Linked DNA regions of Homo sapiens: regions 1, 3, 4, 5, 6 and 7 are each linked to region 2. Evidence: promoter capture Hi-C in 16 types of primary human blood cells and fetal thymus (Javierre and others, 2016). All regions are on one chromosome and are shown on one strand. The core of a region is centred on a gene start or on the middle of the fragment in contact, and the rest is flanking DNA. Distances in the headings are between cores, read along the strand shown. Region 1 has its middle 130 kb from the start of HS3ST2. Region 2 holds the start of IGSF6 (immunoglobulin superfamily member 6). Region 3 has its middle 60 kb from the start of HS3ST2. Region 4 overlaps COG7 (component of oligomeric golgi complex 7). Region 5 overlaps USP31 (ubiquitin specific peptidase 31). Region 6 overlaps HS3ST2 (heparan sulfate-glucosamine 3-sulfotransferase 2). Region 7 overlaps NDUFAB1 (NADH:ubiquinone oxidoreductase subunit AB1).

The links. Contacts are between HindIII fragments. The CHiCAGO score rates a contact against its expected background, and 5 or more counts as called.
Region 1: a fragment that was not itself captured here is called in contact with the fragment with the promoter of IGSF6 in region 2 in 1 of 17 cell types (erythroblasts); the score reaches 5.5 in erythroblasts.
Region 3: a fragment that was not itself captured here is called in contact with the fragment with the promoter of IGSF6 in region 2 in 1 of 17 cell types (erythroblasts); the score reaches 5.2 in erythroblasts.
Region 4: a contact is called between a fragment that was not itself captured here and the fragment with the promoter of IGSF6 in region 2, in 1 of 17 cell types (total CD8 T cells). The highest score is 5.3, in total CD8 T cells.
Region 5: a contact is called between a fragment that was not itself captured here and the fragment with the promoter of IGSF6 in region 2, in 3 of 17 cell types (total CD4 T cells, total B cells and monocytes). The highest score is 7.0, in total CD4 T cells.
Region 6: a contact is called between a fragment that was not itself captured here and the fragment with the promoter of IGSF6 in region 2, in 1 of 17 cell types (endothelial precursors). The highest score is 5.4, in endothelial precursors.
Region 7: a fragment that was not itself captured here is called in contact with the fragment with the promoter of IGSF6 in region 2 in 1 of 17 cell types (neutrophils); the score reaches 5.8 in neutrophils.

What each region holds. Positions count from the first base shown.
Region 1 is chr16:22,943,510-22,946,637 of GRCh38, forward strand. No RefSeq gene overlaps it. Among named protein-coding and RNA genes, the nearest start is that of HS3ST2, 130 kb to the left of the region's middle. The HindIII fragment of the contact is 982 bases long and covers 1,173-2,154 here.
Region 2 is chr16:21,651,148-21,654,155 of GRCh38, forward strand. It overlaps IGSF6 (immunoglobulin superfamily member 6), which reads right to left and starts at 1,461. Exons shown (of 6, transcript NM_005849.4): 1 at 1,385-1,461. The coding sequence starts at 1,451. All of the region lies in intron 4 of METTL9 (methyltransferase 9, His-X-His N1(pi)-histidine), which reads left to right. The HindIII fragment of the contact is 3,735 bases long and covers 457-3,008 here.
Region 3 is chr16:22,752,525-22,755,617 of GRCh38, forward strand. No RefSeq gene overlaps it. Among named protein-coding and RNA genes, the nearest start is that of HS3ST2, 60 kb to the right of the region's middle. The HindIII fragment of the contact is 3,804 bases long and covers 1-3,093 here.
Region 4 is chr16:23,432,050-23,434,927 of GRCh38, forward strand. It overlaps COG7 (component of oligomeric golgi complex 7), which reads right to left. Exons shown (of 17, transcript NM_153603.4): 5 at 2,587-2,669; 6 at 1,496-1,618. Among named protein-coding and RNA genes, the nearest start is that of COG7, 20 kb to the right of the region's middle. The HindIII fragment of the contact is 941 bases long and covers 1,008-1,948 here.
Region 5 is chr16:23,142,924-23,145,795 of GRCh38, forward strand. All of the region lies in intron 1 of USP31 (ubiquitin specific peptidase 31), which reads right to left. Among named protein-coding and RNA genes, the nearest start is that of USP31, 5.1 kb to the right of the region's middle. The HindIII fragment of the contact is 4,574 bases long and covers 1-2,872 here.
Region 6 is chr16:22,815,203-22,818,002 of GRCh38, forward strand. All of the region lies in intron 1 of HS3ST2 (heparan sulfate-glucosamine 3-sulfotransferase 2), which reads left to right. Among named protein-coding and RNA genes, the nearest start is that of HS3ST2, 2.4 kb to the left of the region's middle. The HindIII fragment of the contact is 1,015 bases long and covers 851-1,865 here.
Region 7 is chr16:23,587,287-23,590,295 of GRCh38, forward strand. NDUFAB1 (NADH:ubiquinone oxidoreductase subunit AB1) reads right to left here. Exons shown (of 5, transcript NM_005003.3): 2 at 1-33. Among named protein-coding and RNA genes, the nearest start is that of NDUFAB1, 7.5 kb to the right of the region's middle. The HindIII fragment of the contact is 6,808 bases long and covers 1-3,009 here.

The DNA of each region.
Region 1 (3,128 bases), core at 414-2,913, 1.3 Mb after region 2:
CGACATGAAGCCATTGCCTACCTTGGTTTCCATTTAGTCACCAAATGGAAGAAAGTTAGTGGTTGCCTACTGCATGTCCAGATCTCTGCTGGAACCTGGGGAAGTGCCAAATGGTCATTCATTTTAAAATTTATTTAATTGATACTTTTTCATTTATTCAATTGATTATGACAAGCACTGTTCTAGGCTAGAGGGATATCACAGAAAACAAGATAGCCAAAGTGTCTCCTGGGCATAACCTTTTAGAGTAGAGGACATAGGATAAATAAATAGGCAAATAAATTGATGACATAAAGAAAAGAAAGAACAGTAGGGGGATACAGAAGGATGAGGGGCTGTATTTTACGTAGGCTGATCAGGGAAAGTCTCCCTGATGAGGTGACTTTAAGCAGAGATCAGGATGACAAGAAGATGGGAAGGGAATAACATTTCGGGCAGAGAGAGTAGCAAGTGGGATCGCACTGGGTGAATGAATAACTGAAAGGAAGCCCGTATGGCTGAGTGGCAAGTCCTGAGGACAAGAGGATAGGAGATGAGGTCAATGAGACATGAAAGGGCTGGAATCTGTAGAGCCTCTAGTCATTGCAGGAATTCTGACTCTCTTCTAAGTGCCATGAGAAACCATGAGAGAGTTTTAATCAGAAGAGTAACATGATTTGTTTCAGAAAGATCTCTCAAGTTCAGTGTGCAAAATGGATTGTAGGGGGAGAGATGAGCATGCGACCAAGGCCATCTGGGAGGCTGGGGCAGTGGTGCAGGCAGGAAATGATAGTGGCTTGGATCAGGGTGTGGGCAGCAGAGATGGAGAGAAAGGGACACATTCAGTATGTATTTTGGAGTTGGAGGCGGCAGGTCATGCTGAAGCACAGGATGTTGAGGAGGAGGGAAAGAAAGGAACCAAGCATATTTAAGACATTGTCCCTATTCTAGAGAAATCCACAGTAGATTACAAAAGACCCCTTCCCACACCCAGGCAAAGTAGAGGTCAAGGTCTCATCTATTTCACACTCACACATCTTTATTATTATCAGTCTCTAGTCTTTGCTCTAAGAAACTTCTGAAATCCTTTATTTTCTATTAAATGCCAAGGACCAGTTTCTTATTACCTGGCTTGGAACTTTCCAGAAAGATGTATGTTTACACGCTCTGGTTGCCTGCTCATGACAATCTAAAGCTTAGATTTCTACCCAGGTGGTCTCATGGGCTGGAAAAGACTTCCACCAAACTGGGATCTCTTTGGGTTTGAGGAAAAGCAGCCTCGGTAGTGGAAGGGATAGTGGTTGGATTTCAACTCCAGCATCCCAATGACACCAGCCTCTGCACAAATTCTTCCCAGCGATGGTGAGCTCATTACCTCCAAATGGCTTTAATCACTTTGACTACTAGCTCAACTTCCCTGGTGAAAACTGTTCTGTGAACCAAATATGAGAGTTCATACATCTCTTACTTGAACTTATTTTTCTTCAATGCAAAAGGAGGTGGAAGAAGATCAGGAATTGAGGTCTTGAGAAGAAACAGAGATTGAATAGTCCCTGGACAGTGTCTTCCATTCTCTCTCAGTTTTGCTTCATTTACTAGATGACCCTTTCTGAGGGAAGATGAGAATAACCCTCTATACATGCAGTGATGACAAGGTGCATTAGTCAGCATAAGCCAGTTGCTGTAACAAACAATCTCAACATCTTAATAACAATAAAACTTTGTGTCTATCTTGCTTAAACCACAGTCTGTGGCAGGGTAAAGATGGCCAAACATTCTTTTTGGCCATTCTTTTGGTTGAGAGGGGAGATCCTTTTCCCTTCCCTGGAACCTATGATCAAATCTATGATTGATTGGATCAAAGAAATTTGTCAGAAGAGATGCTGTGCCCTTTTTAGGCCTTTAAGAGAGGCCAGACAGCCTCTGCTTGCACTCTTGAGGGGATGCTTTCCCCATGTGAGAAGTCAGATTACTCTGAAATTACCATATTGTGAGGAAGCTGAAGCCAGTCACAAAAAAGGCCACGTGAAAAGAAAGTGAGTAAGAGAAAGAGAGGTGCTGGCTGGCACCCAGCTGTTTCAGCCATCTCAGCACAACCCCCACACATGTGATGAGAGAAGCTATCTGGGACATTCCAGTCCACATCTCTGTGCCTGTCTCCCTCATCCTAGCTCAAGCTTCAAGTAACCCCCAACACCATCTTTCTTGGCTATCACCCAGATAAGATGGCCCCAGCTTCTGTGAGCAGGAATTCAGACAACAGAGGCCTCATGAGAATAGCATGGGCTTCTTTAGCTTTGTAAAGACAACATCTCCACGTGTGTGTGTGTGTGTGTGTGTGTGTGTGTGTGTGTGTGTGTGTGGTGTTAATATGTGCAGGATGTCCAGAGGTCAGAGGTAACCCCAGCAAAACCCCCAGGAAAACCATGATACACAAACTTGCTGTTTTTTTTTTTTTTTTTCAAAATTGCTCTATTTTATTTTATTTTATTTTATTTTTTTGCCCACAGCTTTATTCAAAATTTCTTTCTTATAGACACTTTGGTTGCTTTTCCAACCAAATTATTATATTAGCCATGGGTAATTCACTTCCCAATTGGTCTCTGTTGCTCACATTAACAATTCTTACTATTTAGTTACTGAGTTCTATTGGGTGCATTGCAGTGACTAGCTACAGAGCATGCTGTTAAGACCCAAACTCAAAAACCCAAATTGCCTAGGTTTGAATTCAGGCCATGCCACTTATTACCTGCGGGACCTTGAACAAGTTACTTGACTTCTCTGGTTCTCAGTTCTTCATCTGGAAATGTGGATAATAAGACTACCTACTTCACAGAGTTACTGTAGGGATCAAATGAATTAATATATATCAAGCAGTTAGTACGGTGTCTGGCACAAATATTAACTTTTATTGATAATGTGAATGTGACCAGCAAGGATGAGGTGCTGAGTTGTGATTGGTTGAACTGGCTTAGAATCTGATCGATCCTAATGTCCATGAGTGTTGGTGGTTCTTAGATTGGGTTCCCTAGGAGCCTCAAAATAATGATTCATCTGAAGGTAATTTACTAGGCATGCTCTTAGGAAAAGCCTGCAGGGGAGTAGAAAGTAGGACTGGGAAGGGAAGGAATGAAGTCAGGATGTGGCAT
Region 2 (3,008 bases), core at 211-2,710:
GGGAGGCGGAGCTTGCAGTGAGCCGAGATCTTGCCACTGCACTCCAGCCTGGGTGACAGAGCGAGACTCCGTCTCAAACAAACAAAAAAGCCATATTGAAAGTAGGAAGAGAACTAATTCTTGACATTTAAACAAAGCTGTCTCTCTATCTAGTAAGTAAGAAGTAAGTAAATGTCTTGCTCTGTTGCCCAGGCTGGAGTGCAGTGGCACAATCACAGCTCCCTATAGCCTGAAAGTCCTGGGCTCAAGTGATCCTCCTGCCTCAGCCTCCCAGGTGGGTGGGACTGCAGGTGCAGTGCAGGTGCCATCACGCCCAGCTATTTTTTTTTCTTGTGTAGAAATGGGGGTCTCATTATGTTGTTCATGCTGGTCTTGAACTCCTGAGCTCAAGTGATCCTCTCACCTTGGCCCCCAAAGTGCTGGGATTACAGGCATGAACCACCACGCCCAGCCCAAAGCTTTATTATATTAGATTTCAAATTTCTAACATATCAAAGTAGCGAAGTAGTACAGTCAACCCCCTGCCATCACATGGCTTCGACCCAATCTTGTTTCTTTTCTCCTCCCACCTACTCCCTCACTCCCATATTATTTTAGAGCAAATCCCAGCCATTTTATCTGCATCTTTCAGAATATATCTCTAAAAGACAGGAATTCTTCTTTAAAATAATGCTAATTAAAATAGTCTATGAAAGTAATATATACTTATTAGCAAAAAACAGGTTATTAAAAGTAGAAGCAAAAAGTCACCCATAGTCCTTTTGCCTGAAATAACTCCCATTAACATTTTGATATATTTCTTCACAGATGAGAAAAAATTAAGAACTTTCCCCCCTTCCCTGCCCTATAATCCAAATTGTGTGGGCAAATCTGAGATTACTAGATGTATTGGAAATCCTTTCTCTTTCATAGATAAAAAAACAGAAGTAGACAGAATTTTAAAAATAGATATACTATGGGATGGCTATTGGAGTCATGGCAGTTTTTTTTTTCTTAAATGAAAAGTACTTTTATAGAAATTGTTCTTTGAAAATATTCAGCAAATAATCATTTATTGCTTTCTATGTGCAGATCAAGTTTGTATGATAATTAAATTATTGATAACTTATACCTACGATTTTAAGAATATTTTCAACCCTTTGGTCAGATTGTCTCCAATTAGCATAATAGCAAAGAGACTTTTCAAGGTTAATATGAAACTTTTTCTCAGCTATTTTTTTATTGTCTATTTCTCAGGGGAAAAAGGAAACTTATCCTCTTAGGCAGTTTTCATAATGTTATACATTTAAAAATTAATCTGAAGGAGCTTAAAATATAAATGCATTAGGTGAAAAATAGCAGTTGATTTAAATAAAATGAAGGAGGAGAAGAAAAAGAACCTTACCGACACAAAATAGAATGAGATTGGTTTGCAGATGGCGAGCGATGTTGCTTCTGCTCGCAGTCCCCATTTCTGTGTATGCCGGGGCGGGTTGGGGTGTGTATTTGAAAGGAAAGTTGGCTTTCTTTTTTCAGAAGGGAAGAAGAGCTGAAGAGAGGAACCTCTTATGAAGGAACCATAATCAGGAACTTTTTGAAATTGTGCAAGGATGGCTTCACCATTTAACATTGAGATTTTGGCCTGGAGCACATTTAGAAATGTGCATATCTTTTTTTTTTCCATGGATTTTACAGTTGTCATAGGTGTTAGATGTTTCTGGGTGAGATTTTGATTTACACCTAGCACATATTTCCAGGAAGGAGTATTGTTTGACAAATAATTCGTACTTGGATTTTTCAGAACAGTTCAGTCACTGTCTAGGGTACCTGCTCTGGGTGCCACTCTGGGCCAGTAACTGCTGGGAACAAAGAACAGCAGAAGGAGAAGTGGCTTTGTGTAGAGATGAGAAAAGTTAGTAAACAACACATTCTAATGCAGCGAATAAATAAATTGTCTGTTATTAACTTTTTGTACTCCAGTTTTGAATCCAAAGACACCTGCCTTCCCCCCTTTTTTGACAGGGTCTCTATCACCCAGGCTGGAATGCAGTGGCAAGATTGCAGGTCATTGCAGCCTCAGCTTCCTGAGTAGCTGGGACTACAGGCATGCACCACCACCCCTGGCTAATTTTTTTTTTTTTTTGTAGATTCTGTGTTGTCTAGGCTAGTCCTGCCCTCAAGCGATCCCCCTGCCTTGGCCTCCCAAAGTGTTAGGATTACAGGTGTGAGCCACCATGCCTGGCCCAAAGACCCCCTTTTAATGTGTTGAGAAACAAATATGTGGGCCCTCTGTCCTCTGTGTCCTCTCCCCCAGCACTTAGTGGTGATTCAGTAAGGGTCTTCTTTGTAAAGCAGCAGAAACAGACTCAGGCTGACTTAAAAGGAAATTTATGCAAACATTTGAAGGTAGATCCTAGAGTCACTGGGAGGGCTAGTGAATCTTGTGTGGGGTCCACAGCCAGGAAGAATGCCTCAAATCACACCATAAACAGGTCTGAAGAGGATGCTACTGCCACTGCCAAACACTAGGTGCCATCAGCCCTGTTGTCAGCATCGCTCAACCACTGCCCCAGCCCCTTGGTCTCACTGCCATTGCTCCACCCCCAGAGAAGGAGAAGCTCACATCCCCACTACTCTGGGTCACTGGCTCTCCATTCCAGGGCATGGGCAAGTGTGCCTGGCTTAGGCTGCGTGCCAGTGCCTCAGCTGCACGGCAGGCCAGGAAAGCGGCTCCCAGGCCTTGTGTCTCTCCCAGACTCTGGGCAGGCAATTCCCCAGACATGGGAAGAGCGTCATCTGCACCACTGAAAATTATGAAAAATCTCCCCACCATGATATGATGTCTGTGCCCTTGGCATCTGCTCATGATATATTTTCTCATTAACAGAAAGTTATTCTCAGTCTGTTTTGTTTTTTTTTTTTTTTTTTTTTTTGAGACAGAGTCTCGCTCTGTCGCCCAGGCTGGAGTGCAGTGGCACGATCTTGGCTCGCTGCAAGCTCCGCCTCCCGGGTTCACACCATTCTCCTGC
Region 3 (3,093 bases), core at 423-2,922, 1.1 Mb after region 2:
TGAGAACCAACTGGTCTACCAGGAATCTTACACATTGAAAAAGAGTTCCCTGGCCAGACAATTAATACCCAGCTCCCCCAAATTGGAATTCTGCTTCACCTTAGGGACTCAGGTAAGCAGAAGAGAAAAAACATCTCAAGTAGGAAGAAAAAGAAAAAAAACCCCACTTACAATGTCAAAATTACTCTTGAAAATCACTTAGGAAGGTACCATGTTGGAGGTTGTTCTATCAATTTTAAAAAGACCAGCCCAGTCATTTTCTCTCCACTATAAGAAGAAATCTGTTTCTTCAGTTGGACACCAAATGAATGGCTAGATTAGAGGTCCTGCTGTTTTAAAAAGTTAATAAAGCTGAAAAAAAAAGCACCATTCTTTAAATACTCCATATGGTGTGGTATTCTGTTTGTAGGAGGCACACAAACAATAGCAGATTTGAAGCCCCATTTCAGGCTCACTATGGGGTCTGCACATATTGAATGAAGTGGCAGGCAGAATTGCCTGTATTATTTAAGTTATTATTTCTTTTTCTTAATTTTTTTCCCCAAATCAAAGTGGTTGGATTTGCAGAAATTAAATGTGCATGTGATACAACTCCACAGTTCTAGACAGACCATGAAAAGTGCCTGGCACTTACATTTTCCCATCCTGGGAAAGCCCAGCTTGCCTCCGAGCCCATCACTGTCTTTGGAGGAATTCTTGATGACTGAGTCCCTATTCTTTGCATCACGTGAACAACGGGTTATTGCAACCAGGTTGTATACTGTACAACCTTTGGGGGTGCCATTCACAAAGACTGTAGTGTGAATGGTGTCCCTGGAATTATGCAGTACACAACCTGCACAGCCTAATGTGCTGGCCCTTATTGTGCCCAAAGGCAGTCAGGAAGCCCCAAAAATCTGCTCCAGGCTGTTCACTGGGTGTGTGGAAGGTACACTTACGTTATTGTTTTCAAATAACACAGCAGTGAAAAGCCAGACAAATGAAATACCCAAGAGAATCCGAGTATCTGTATTTCCAATTACACTGAACATGCATTCTTCACCCACATAAGTGCCAATTTGTATTATTCTAAGTTCCACTGAAATTGGCCCAAGCCCCTGGGGCACTTCTTGCCTAGTTTCACTTGTTACCCTGGGATAATTGGTTTAAAACTGATTACTGGGTCACTAATTATGGAGCCTATTGACAGTGTATTTCAGCTTAGGGAAGCAATTAAAAAGTTCACCCTAATTAATCAGGGGTAATTAACAGGTCTTAAATTTCATCAAGAGATTAATTATCAAGAAATCCAGAACAAATCAATGTGCATTCCAGGAGGGTGAAAGAGGACTTTATCATTGGAGCTGGAGGTTATTTGGATTATCCATTCATTCATTTAACAAATGTTTACTGAGCACCTACACGGTGCCAAGCACAGAGCCTAGTGGCTTTGCAGTTCCAGTGGCTTTGCTGATGTGACTTCCCATTAGACAGGGAATGGTGGAACATGTGACCAGGCACTTTTTCAAATGGTTGCAGAGAGGCTCCCTGAAGGCATAATCACAATATTTCAAGTTAATTGTTTTGAGCACTTATTACGTGCTATGTGCAGGACTAAGAGCTTCTGTCTATTATTTCATTAAACCTTCACAATGACCCTATTATGTAGAAGCTATTGGTTATCATCATTTAACAGGTAAGGAAACTCAGGCATAGCTGGGTTAAGAAACTTACCCAAGAAGACACAGTTAGGAAATAGTAGGGCTAGGTTTTGAATCCAGGGAGAGTGACTCTATGCTTTGGTACACCTCTCAATGTGTCAGTGTTCTGAGAAAGGATCAGGTTAGCCTTTCCCCAAGGGAGGTTAGTGGAAAGACAGCCAAATAAAGTGAAGTGTGGGGCTCTAGAGTCAGACTACCTGCGTCAAATCCTGGTGCCACTGACTAACCATATGAGCTTGGGCAAGTTCACCCCACCTCTCTGTGACCCCACTTTCCTCTTCTGTAAAATGGGCATGTAATGGTACCAACGACACCATGCTAATTTAAGGTGATGCATGTAAAACATTTCAGATCGTTCCCGGCACCTGGTAGCTGTTGGGGCCATTTACTACTGCCTTCTTGCTGAGCCAGGAAGTTACTGTCTTAGCTTTTTTTCTATCAGCTGGCATGATTCTGCCATACAGATCCTTGTTTGGGTTTTAGGAATGATTTTCTATTTAGTTTGGGAGTGTGCTATGATCTGAATTGTGCCTACCCAAAATATGTTGATGCCCTGATCCCCAGTGGGATGGTATTTGGAGACGGGGTCTTTGAGAAGCAATTAGGTTTAGATGAGGTCATGCAATGGAATTCGTGTTCTTATAAGAAGAGACATCAGAGCATTCACATTAATGTTCTCTTTCTCTCATTCCTGACCATGCTGGCACTCTAACCTCAGACCTTCAGCCCCCAGAACTGTGAGAAAATACATTTTTATTGTTTAAGCCACCCAGTCTAGGGTATTTTGTAGTGGCAGCCTGAACTAATACAGAATGTTTGCTAATTTTCCAGAACTGATTGCTTGGGGCCACTTCAGAGGTTAAGCTACCAGACATCAGAGTGTCATTCCCATCACTCTAATACAAAAATGATCTGTTGCCTGCAAGGCAACTTTGATAACAGGGAGTATGGCAGTCCTAGAGAGTGACGCTTCTGTAAATTCTATCCTTGCTTCTTTTCTGGGGCTGAAAAGTAATAGATCAGGCACACAGAGGTGGAGGCAATGGGCTCTTCCCAGTGCAATGCTTTGGTGATGTCCAGAGACCTATAGAGGTGAGAAATACTGAAGAGGACATCCGCCATTTTTGTCTGTCTAGCATCAATCCTAATTCCTGTAACTACACTCTGGTTTTTCTCTGATGATGTTAGAGTACTATCAGTAAGGAGATGTGGGCTGCAAATAGAGCCCAGATGTCCTTGTGTTCATCTCAACCACCAGCCTGAGACTACAAAAATAAGGATGCACTTCCTAGGTCTGACCGACGGCCACAGAAAGTTTATACAAGTTATGGTGGTCAGGAGTGTGGCAACTGGAATCAGATGGCTTGGGTTCAAATCCTGTCCCTGACACTGC
Region 4 (2,878 bases), core at 228-2,727, 1.8 Mb after region 2:
GGCAGGAGGACAGCTTGAACCCAGGAGGCCGAGGCTGCAGTGAGCCATGATCATGCCACTGCACTCTAGCCTGCATGACAGAGCAAGACTCTGTCTCAAACAAAACAAAACAAAACAAAATCCTAAGAATGAATTAGGTTAGTTCAAGGAAAAAGAACAAGGATGGAGAAAAGTGCTTTAACCAACAACTTGAATGACATGACCCGGTATAAGGAATTCTCTCCAACCTTAGTCAAATTCATTCCAGCAAATGACTGATGAACATCTGAAGAGTGATTCACAACTATAGTAAAAAATAAAATATGGGGAACGTGACACTAAACCACTCGTAGATGACCTGCTTCTAGGTTGGGGTTTCGTACATAGCAGAGCAGCTCCCTCACTGCAATCTATTTCAATAGCTCTCTATCTGAGTGCTATTGAAAATCAGCCCTCAACACAAGGGTTTGGAGAAAAAAAATAAATAAATAAGAAAAAAATAAATAAAATAAGCCACACTAGAAACAGGCCCAGTAAGTCATTACTGCAAAGTAAGACAGGCTCTTCCCCTGCTTACAAGAGGTTCTACTGTGCCTCCTGTCTCAAGGCAAGAGAACAACGGTTTAAAACCTTTATGGCTGGAAATGCCTAGAGACTTGAGGAAAGTAAATGATGGATAGTTGCCACTTGAAACAAAGTTCCTCTGTCTCTCCTCACTCCTAGTCAGGGGGTACCTTTAAAATTATCTCTTCCCCTACTTCTTGGTGTATCATGAGAACAAGGGAGACTCACTTCAGGTAGGTAAATTTTACCTGAAGTAAAGATAAAAACATTCCTGTTCATTCGAACACCACCTGACGAGGGGCCTCCTGCTTTTAGATGGGAAGAAAATGGCCTTCAGGAATTCCACAGGCTCCCTTGCTGGACAACAGGCGGCATTGTCACATTAGGTCCTATTTAAGTTATAGATAAGAGTGGTAAGAAGAGTTTCAGTGGAGACCTAAAGATTTCACTGACGTGGATTTCTAAGCTTATCTTTTAAACTTAAACCATTTAACTGGTTATCGTTTTTTCTTTTGTTGTTTGTTTGTTTGAGACAGTCTTGCTTGCTCTGTTGTCCAAGCTGAAGTGTAGTGGTGCGACCATAGTCACTGTGGCCTCAACCTCCTGGACGTAAGCAATCTTCCTGCCTCGGTCTCCTTAGTAATTGTGCCACCACACCTGGCTAACTTTTGCATTTTTTGTAGAGTTGGGGTTTCACCGTGTTGGCCAGGCTGGTCTCGAACTCCTAGGCTCAAACGATCCGCCCACTTCGACCTTCCAAAGTGTGGTGATTACAAGTGTGAGCCACCGCACCCGGCCTAACTGGTTATTTTTTAACCCCTTGAATGACAGCAACAAACGGGGAAGTTCTTTGAGCTGTGCTCTGCAGTTGAGGGTGGCCACTCCCGAGGCAGTCACCCGTTCCCTTGTCACCACAGACTCTGTTCTCCCTAGAACAAAAATGAGCTGTTACCTGTGTAGCCCACTGGATTTGTGTGTGCCAAGCACCAAGCAAGGCATCATAGAGTCCGGTAAGCTGCCGGTCCAGGGATAGGTCACTTTGACACAGCTCTTGCCAGGCTGCTAAAAGCTGCACCTGCAGAGACAGAACAAAGGGAACCTTATTGGGTACGTCAACATAGGTTGCCTGTGAACACTGCCCTGCCCTGCTACCCAGCGTAATCACGGATTGCTCAATGGGCTCACTGGGCAGCCCAGTGAGGTCCATTCACTTCAAAGAAAGGCAGGAAAAAAAAAAAAACATTTGCAGTTATCTGCACTGATTCACAGCTTTAATCTGTCACCCTGCGGATGTGATCCCCTCTCCATTTATCCTGCCCTAAAAACATGTAATGTGCAACCACTTGGCACACCATCACTCTTCTGAATAGATGTTGGGGCAAGAGCGGGCAGACATGTATGTTTAAGCTTCATGTCCTAACATCACTGCTTAAAAGACACAGAGCACTGGACTTGAAGGAATTAAGGTCAGTTCAGGAAGCTGTCAAGTTTTTTGGCAATCTAACTTCAGCAAACCTAGAAAACATAAAATTCCAAGCCAGGTGGAGTGGCACGCGCCTGTAGTCCCAACTCCTCACAAGGCTGAGACGGGAGGATCACTTGAGCCCAGGAGTTCAAGGCTGTAGTGCACCATGATCGGATCTGTGAATAGTCACCGCACTCCAGGCTGGGCAAAATAGTGAAACCCTATCTCTAAAGAAAAAAAGAGAAATTCTTACTGCCTTCTGAGGGTGTAATAAAGCTTAAGACATAAATCTCCCTTAAAAGACAAAAATGAGAATAAATTAAAACAACGTTTCAAGTCTATAATGAATCCAGCTGTAAACAGAAAAGAGAATGAAAACGGATAACTTTTTCCAACTGGCAATTAAACAAATCCATATGCTAGACCAAGAGCACCCCCTACTGGCTAACTAAGAGAAAAACAGCCAGAGGGCAAGGAGACAAATGTTCTTACCTTCTGAATTATGAACCTGCGATTCTGTGACCCAGAGTTATGAGCATTCCACAACTGCACAACTGTCATCGCGCACAGCTTCTTACCTTGTGACACTTGTAGTAGTAGGCCAGGAGCTGGGGCATCCGGTCAATTTCAGTAAACACCTTCACAAACACTTTGGACTGATCTAAAGAACATACAATGTATATATACTGTTACCAGCCTTTCTGGTGTAGACATGAGAAAAAACTCACCAGGATGAAGGTGGATATATGGAAGCTAGTATTCACAAGTTCCTGCCTAGATACTGAATTAACTCATGCATGAGGATCATAAATTTGAAAAATAAGCATGACGTGAAAACCAGATACTGCAAGGTATTCCCCACTGTTCCTC
Region 5 (2,872 bases), core at 369-2,868, 1.5 Mb after region 2:
TGACACTAACAAGAAAAAAACTGTGTACCATGGGTTTGCAGCATAGCACCAGAACCCCCAGCATGAGTGCATGGAAAAGCAGGCTGGGAAACTCAGCAAGTGTGAGCCTCTGATTGCCAGGTTGTTCACCACTAGTCTCTTATACAAGTTTATTCCTTTTGTGACTTGAGAATTCTCACTAATAAATAAGCACCACAAGGCACCAAAGTTCAAGGAAAAAAAAATGGGAGAGAGAATTCTATTCATCAATTACCATTTGTTTCACTGCAAATCTGGAAGGAGTCCCCACAATTCTTTTATCAATAGATCACTCTGTGCTAGCTGTTCTTTGCCAGCACAATTTAAAAACTGCTGCCATAAAATTTATCTTTCTTGCTTGAAAGATGACCATCCATCTTTTTACTTGCTGCAAAACGGCTCTGAGCTCTAAAACTCAGAAAGCATTTGTAAGAATCTGGGGCACCCATGCTCCTATGAAAGCAATAAGCTGATTCCCTTTAAAATGGCATATTATGTATTCAAAGTGATTTATTTACTCTCACTATTTTACTAGGAAAGTGATGCAAGGGTCCTGCCAGTGAAGCCCAAGTTTTACCCTAGTGCTGCTGCAAACACATATACACACTCAGAGACAGAGAAGGAGAAAGAGAGAGGGAGAGGTTGGGGGGGGGGAGAGAGAGAGAAAGAGAGAGCGCGAGAGATAACAAGGTAACCATTTTAAAGGCTGGGGAAGTAAAAGGAAACTTGCGCTGAGTCTCCAAACTTTCCTCCAAACAGTTTCTCAGCCTCAGCACTACTGACACTTTGGGGTGAAAACCCTTTAGTAAGGGGGGCTGTCCTGCACATTGTGTGACATTTAGCAGCATCCCTGGAATCTACCACCACATGCCAGTAGCACCCTGATCCCAGCTGTGACAACCAAGTAGGGTTCCAGACATCGACAAATGTCCCAGGGGGTGGGGGCAGGGTGGGGTGAGGACAGGCAAAAGTGCCCGTGTTGAAAACCAGTGCTCTAAGAGTAGGAAACAAACAAACAAAAAATCTGTGTGAAAAGAGAAAGGATAAAGGTAATGGCTAGAGACATTTTTTACAGCATATCAAGGTTGAGCTAGTCAACTCATTTCATCCTGGGAAATGAAAACCCAACTTTAACAACCATCTAGCCCATCCAAAACCAAAAACCATCTACTTGGCAAGCTCCTAAAACTCAAATCAATGTGGTTAAAAAGGAAGAAAGAACTCTAATTGAAAAACTTACAAAGAAAAGCATTAGTAACTTAAAGTTTTAAGATAATAAAAGCACAAAGACATAGTAAGTGCTTTTCTAACCTCAAGGTAACTATCTCAAGATGGCAAATTGGTTTTATCTCCTCTGCCAACTTCAACTAGGTGGTGGTGGCTGCCTGGAGCCCTTCTAGAACTGAGCAGGATTCTAAGGCTGAATGTGAGCGATGTGAAAGTGAAGAATATCTGAATGAAATAACGATGTCCACCCCAAGCAGGCGAAGCACAGTGAGGTATGCCTCAGGTCCACCTTCTGGTGTTTACCTTTCTTTTTTTTTTTTCCTTTTTTTGAGGCAGAGTCTCACTCTGTCACCCAGGCTGGAGCGCAGTGACATGATCTCTGCTCACTGCAACCTCCACCTCCTGGGTTCAAGAGATTCTCGTGCCTCAGCCTCCCGAGTAGCTGGGATTACAGGTGTGTGCCACCACGCTCGGCTACTTTTTGTATTTTTTTAGTAGAGATGGGGTTTCACCATGTTGTCCAGGCTGGTCTGGAACTATTGGTCTCAAGTGATCCACCCACCTTGGCCTCCCAAAGTGCCGGGATTACAGACATGAGCCACTGCGTCCTGCCTTAGCATTCAACTTTCTTTATATTCAAAATAATACCCATCAAATTTAGCTAAAATAAAACCTTTTTTTAAAAAGTAATCAATTTGCCAGAGTTACCTAACCGGGGGAATAAAAAGGGGAAAAGAATCTAATTATATCACTTCCTTGCTTAAAAATCACCTCTGGATTTTCAACTTGCAGAGGATGAAATCCAAACCAGCATAGCTCACGAAGCCCTTCACAGTGAGTTTCCAACACTCTTCTCCCAGGCTTCCTGCACCCCCACTGCTCTCTATGGTGCAGCCAGCCACTAAATGTCTATTCCCCAAAACCACACGCCCTTTCATGCAACTCCACCACTTCCTTGCCCTGCAAATTTCTATTCATCTTTCAGAACACTGCTCAGGAGCCACCTTTTTGGTAATGCTTTCCTTGTTCCTTGATGCCTGCTATACACAGGATGGTCCTTGAGCCAAAAGCACTGGCATCACCAGGGAGCTTGTTAGAAATGCAGAATCTTGGGCACCGCTCCAGCTCTACCGAATCTCAATTTCCTTTGTAGCAAGATCCCCAGGTGAATTATGTGCACACTGACGCATGAGAAGCGCTGTCTCAGGGAACTTCCTAGATCCTACTCGACTCAGCTCTTCATAGCTCCCTGGGAGGTAAACCCCTCCTTTACTCATCTCCTCTGTGAAGACAGGAAAACCCAAATGCCCACCCTCCAGCCTCCGTGACAGCCAATTGACATGGTTATAGCCAATGAAATATCAGCAGAAGCCTGCTGAGGGGGCTTCTGGAAGAATTTTTATTTCCCTAATGACTTCCTGCCGTCCTGGGTAGAATGCCAGGTGCAGTGGCTGCCATCACTGGACAACCATGAGGTGACAAACCTAAGAACAAAAAGCCAATGATAGCTAAAAAGACAACAGGTGGAAATACAGAAATGGTCTGAATCCTTGTTGGGCCCAACGAGCCACTGAACCATAGAACCATCCACCTCCGGAATCACTGTGTGTGCCAATTGCCAATTGCA
Region 6 (2,800 bases), core at 108-2,607, 1.2 Mb after region 2:
GGTTCAGGCTGACACACAGGGCCATGGGGGGCTATAGCAGAATTTACCCAGAACTTCCCAGTGATAATCTAGACGGGCAGTTTCTGGAACTGCAAAGGGCGTTCCCTCGTCACTGGAGTCGTTGGAAAAGGATTATCTCCAGTCAAACCTAAGTGCCAGCTAAAGGGCTAACTCCCTCTGTGACCAGCCCTTAGGGTGCCCAAGGAAGGGACAGGCGAGGACCTGTGCTGCCTGAACACGGCACCATCCTAACCCTCTGTAGGTCTTTGCTGGTACCCAGCCCCTGAAGGACCCTGAGAAAGATAAGGCAGTTCAGAGACCCCTTGCAGCAAGGCTCTGTTTGGGAAAGGTCCCCAGAGTTCAGGCCAAATGACAGTGCATCGCCAGAGGTCTCCAGTAAGAAAGATGCCTTAGGGAGTCTCAATCTCAAACCCAGGTATTTGCTGCTGTACTGGGGCTGAGACCCCCAGTAGCTCTGGCCCTGGTAGGTGGTCTTTGAGTAGTGGAAAGAGCCCTGGATTCGAGTCTTGGGTCTGTCACTTAAGCTTGAGCAAGTTTCTTAAACTCTATCAGCCTCTATTTTCTCATCCATCCCAATGGGCAGGAAAACAGCCCTTGCCCTGTATACCTTCCAAGGCTTTTCTGAAGTGCCTTAAAGGTGTAAAAAAGGCACTTCACTTTAAGTGATGCTTCTAAACCAGCAGCCAAAATGTGGAATTTGAAGGTGGGCCCTGCGGGTGAAGGCTAGCAAGGGTGCTAGGGGCAGCCAGTCATGCATAGACTGTCTATGCTTCCCATGCATGCCAGGGAGGAGAATTATCCCCACTGGGGGAGTCAAGGCACAGACCAAAGCTTCTGTGAGGTGGCAGCGTCCACGCCTCAATGCCTTTCTGCCTCCCTAGCCCTGTATGGTGCTGAAGTGTAGGACTGGCCCACATGTGGGTGGTGTAATGTCCCGGCTCCCTGTTAACACATAGGTCACAGAATTCTCACAATTCACCTGACCCTTTGAAGACTTTCTAGAAACATCTGCATAGTAATGACGTTGGGGAGGGGTAACATGGTAGCTGACAGAGTAGCTGAGGCTAAATCTGCTGTTTTTATCTACAGCTTTAGGCAGTAGAGGTCATATGCATATTGGACAAGGGACAACTTTGTTAGAAAGAGGACCCCACTGGGCTTATAATAGAGGGCCCTGGATTTACCAAAAGTAGGGGGACCGCAGGCCTGATTTAGCACCTTTGCAGGTTACTCCTGGCTCGCAATGGTTGTAGTTGTGGGGACGAGTGGGTCATGCATCATCCTTAGCAGGCAGACACATAGTCTGTCCCCATTGCAGCCAACCAGGGGCTAGCTAGCCTGTGGGTGGCCCCAGCACCATTATGTCTGGTTAATAGGGTAGGGTGGCACAGAGTGGCAGATCTGGCTTCATGCCAATGCCAATAGCCCACTGTGCTTTCCAAGCTGTGACTCATGGGCATCCCGTCTAGGTGCATGTGGACACTGTCTGAGTCAGATCCCGGGATGGAGGAGGCAAACACATTGAACAGCAGAGCCCAGAGTGGGTCAGCCATGACCACATTCGAATGCAGGCCAGCATTTCCTCGATGGAAAATCTGAAGATCATTATGACACCTTTTGCCAATGCGAAGTGCCTTTTAAGTGCAAAACAGCAAAATTCTGAGCATCTGGCTTTCAGATAGTGTGCCCTCCAATAAATACCTATGCCCTGAACCCAGACTCTCCTCCCTCCCCTCTCTTCCTTCCACCACTAAACAGCATACCTCAGGCTTCCATCCTGGAGCCCATGTCATTCAGGGATGGCTGCTTTTTATTTTTAACCTTGGCATGTGTGATTCTAAGCAAGCTTAGCTGTGAACCTTAGAGAGGGAAGCCATGTCTTATTTTTTATTTATTTATTTTTTTTTAGCACATTTGGATTCTGCTAAAATTCTCAGCTGAGTCTTGGTAGGTTTTATTTAACATCAAGCATGCTGACAGCTCTGCTTCTCTCTTCTCTCCCCCTCTACCACCTTTCCCCACTTTATATTTCTAAAAGACTATCCTAGAGGTCTGGTCGTAATTGCCCTCTCCCCATTGCTTGACCAGGAAGGCTGGGAGGCTCCAGTGTCAGGAAAAGGCTGTGTGGTTTGTGCTTCTTTCAGTTACAAATCCACACCCCTAGAGTCAAGTGTTTAGCTTGTGGATTGCCATTTCTGTGCAGGGTAATACTACCCCACTTAGATGCTGTTTCCATAACCTCCAGAACATCTTTCTGTATGTAAAGAACATTTTTGTACATTTCTTTTTATTATGACCAAGTCATACACATTAACTGCAGAAATCATGGGGATTTCTGGAATCTTTTAAAACCCATGTTCTTACTTTCTTCCTGAATCCCATGAGCTAGGTACGGTGGGTGACAGGATGTTCCGCTCTCTGTCCACTGCCTTGTCAGTTCACAGCTTGCCATCATAAAGCCAGGGTCCACTGGGCAGACATAGCCAAAGAACCCTTGCACCCATTGGAGTGGACTGTGCTTTCCAAAGGGGGAGGTGCAGAGTTGCAGGCAGTGTGGATCTTAGTATGATCTGCCCACATCAAAGCCCCTGGTGATAACTTCCTGATCAGGAGGCTGAAATCCAGATAGTGGAAAAATCAAAAGCTTTACCCTTAACCCAAAGGAGGGGCTTCTTTCTGTGGGTAAATGGAGATAAAGCTGAAGGCCGAGTGATATAGCCAGAAAGACACCATCATTTGGAGAGACCAGGAGACAGAGTCTGCACCTTCTTGTCCTTAG
Region 7 (3,009 bases), core at 33-2,532, 1.9 Mb after region 2:
CTGGCGGCACAACTGTGTAACTCTACCAGGAACCTAGAGCGACGGCAGGAAGGAAACACTGTCATTGAATGGAAAATACCTCTAAATCAATGCACAAGCCTATAGGTAACTTTCACAGAACTTTCGGGGCTTTAGAGAACCCACAGCATCTGATTCTCATTGTGGCCACCAGGACACACTAAGTTGCAGGACTGGGTAATCGCAGAAGCCCCAACAGTTCAGCAGCATCTCAGGCCTCCTTCCTGGGAGTCAGGACCGGCCCCTCTGCCTCCTGGCTTCAACCCTCAGGCTCTGGACATTCATACTGCTCTGCGACACTAACTGCCACTAAAATTGTCTAGCGTCTGCAGAATGCCTGTGTCTTCTCATGGCATCTTCAGCATCCCGAGGCCTCTACAGGGTGCTGCCACCTTTAATAGGCTGACCCAAGTCAAAATAACCCAAAAGGAAAGAGCTGTCATGGTAAACCCAAAGGCAATTCAAATTGAGGACCATACACCAGAAAGGTCTAGTTTGGTTCCAGCAGTTATCTCCCTGATCTCAGCCAGGACAAAGGAAGCTGGCCTCCCACCCAAAGAGGGGATGAGGGAGCTTACAGTCACTACATTCCAATCTGTTTCCCTTCCAGCGAGGCTTGCCTCATGGCCACCAGCCAAACCATGAGCCCTTCTGGCCTGTGCCATGTTAGAGCAATACCTCACGTATCTCTGGTATTAGTCGGCTCAATGTTTAGGTATTAGGGTATTGACCAGATTTCATTCAACAAATGTGGAATGAGCTGCAATTACAGGTCAGGGGGTTTAATGCTGTGGAAGGTACGACGCAGAATCAGAGAAAACAAAACAGGGTATCTGGCAGTTTTGCTCACTACTGAAATCCCTAATCTGGCTAGTCGTGGTGGCTCACGCCTATAATCACAACACTTTGGGAGGCCACGGTGAGCAGATCACCTGAGGTCAGGAGTTCGAGACCAGCCTGGCCAACATGGTGAAACCCCGTCTCTACTAAAAATACAAAAATTAGCCAGGCGTGGTGGTGGGCGCCTGTAATCCCAGCTACTCAGGAGACTGAGGAAGGAGAATCGCTTGAATGTGGGAGGAGAGGTTGCAGTGAGCCGAGCCTGCGCCATTGCATTCCAGCCTGGGCGACAAAGCAAGACTCCGTCTCAAAAAAAAGAAAAAGAAAGAAATCCCTAATCTAAATTGGTTTGTTTACCTCCTGAAGTTGATTTTAAGTCCGAGGCTTGGCGTTCTTCAGGCATTTCCCTATAGAAAGTGGGGCTGCTTGTTAGGGCTCAGGTCCCTGAAACTCACAAAGGTCCATGAAAAATCATAATAAATACTGCCCAGAGAACCAAACCAGTATAACCTCTGTAGAAGAAACATTCATCTTGCATAAAGAACAGGTATTGGGCCGATGTGTGTCTCACACCTGTAATCCCAGCACTTTGGGAGGCCGAGGTGAGCCAATCACTTGAGGCCAGGAGTTCGAGACCAGCCTGGCCAACATGGTGAAGCCTCGTCTCTACTAAAAATACAAAAATTAGCTGGGCGTGGTGGTGTGTGCCTGTAATCCCAGCTATTCAGGTAGCTGAGGCATGAGAATTGCTTGAACCCAGACAGAGGTTGCAGTGAGCCGAGACTGTGCCACTGCACTCCACCTTGGGCCACAGAGCGAGACTCTGTCTCAAAAAAGAAAAGAAAAAGAAGTCAGTTATTAAAATCAGGTTTAGGCTGGGCGCAGTGGCTCACACCTGTAATTGCCACACTTTGGGAAGCCGAAGCAGGCGGATCACGAGGTCAGGAGTTCGACACTAGCCTGACCAACATGGAGAAACCCCGTCTCTACCAAAAATATAAGTTAGCTGGGCGTGGTAACATGTGCCTGTAATCCCATCTACTCAGGAGGCTGAAGCAGAAGAATCGCTTGAACTTGGGAGTCGGAGGTTGCAGTGAGCCAAGATCATGCCATTTACACTCCAGCATGGGTGACAGAGTGAGATTCCGTCTCAAGAAAAAAAAAAAAAAAATCAGGTTTAATCAGCAAACTAAAGAGATGAGTTGGAGAGTATGATAGATATTCTAACGAGCCTTTCTGAGTACTTTCAAGAGTTTTAGAGCATGTTTCTTTGTCTAAATGTCTAGTCTCCTTTCGTATTATACATGGGTTAAGGAGACCTTTTATACAGGCACATGACCGGCCTACTTAACAATGACTCAAATAGGTTTCCAAGTCACAAATAAAATGGAGAAGAAAGGAATAAAGAGAAAGGGGGAGAAGAAATGAGGTAATATGGCAATGGCAGAAAAGAAATTTCAGTTGGAGGGATCTAACAGAGGCTGTGTGCTTATCAAGAAATGGTACGAGGCCAGGTGTGGTGGCTCACGCCTGTAATCCCAGCACTTTGGGAGGCCAAGGTGGGCGGATCTCTTGAGGTCAGGAGTTTAAGACCAGCCTGCCCAACACAGTGAAACCTCCATCTCTACTGAAAGTCCAAAAATTAGCCGGGCATCGTGGCGTGTGCCTATAATCCCAGCTAATCAGGAGGCTGAAGTGGGAGGATCACTTGAACCTAGGAGGCAGAGGTTGCAGTGAACTGAGATCATGGCTCTACACTCCAGCCTGGGCGGCAGGGTGAGACTCTGTCTCCAAAAAGAAAAAAAAAAAAAAAAAAAAAAAGAAATGGTACGATGCCAGGTGTGGTGGCTCACGCCTGTAATCCCAACACTTTGGGAGGCCAAAGTGGAAGGATCGCTTGAGCCCAGGAGTTCCAGACCAACCTGGGCAACAAAGCAAGACCCCTGGTGAGGGTATATTCTATGTTCGTACACAACTACCCATGAGGCCAACTAGGTTGTCAGCATTGTCCTCAGCAGCTCCAGCAAGTACCTACAAGGGCCAGGTGGGCACCATGTGATTAAATTAAACGAGTCTCTGACTGGAGGCCACATGCCAATCTAGAGTGGGTGCTGCATCAGGATCAGCGTGAGGCAGTAAGTTAGTGGGCAA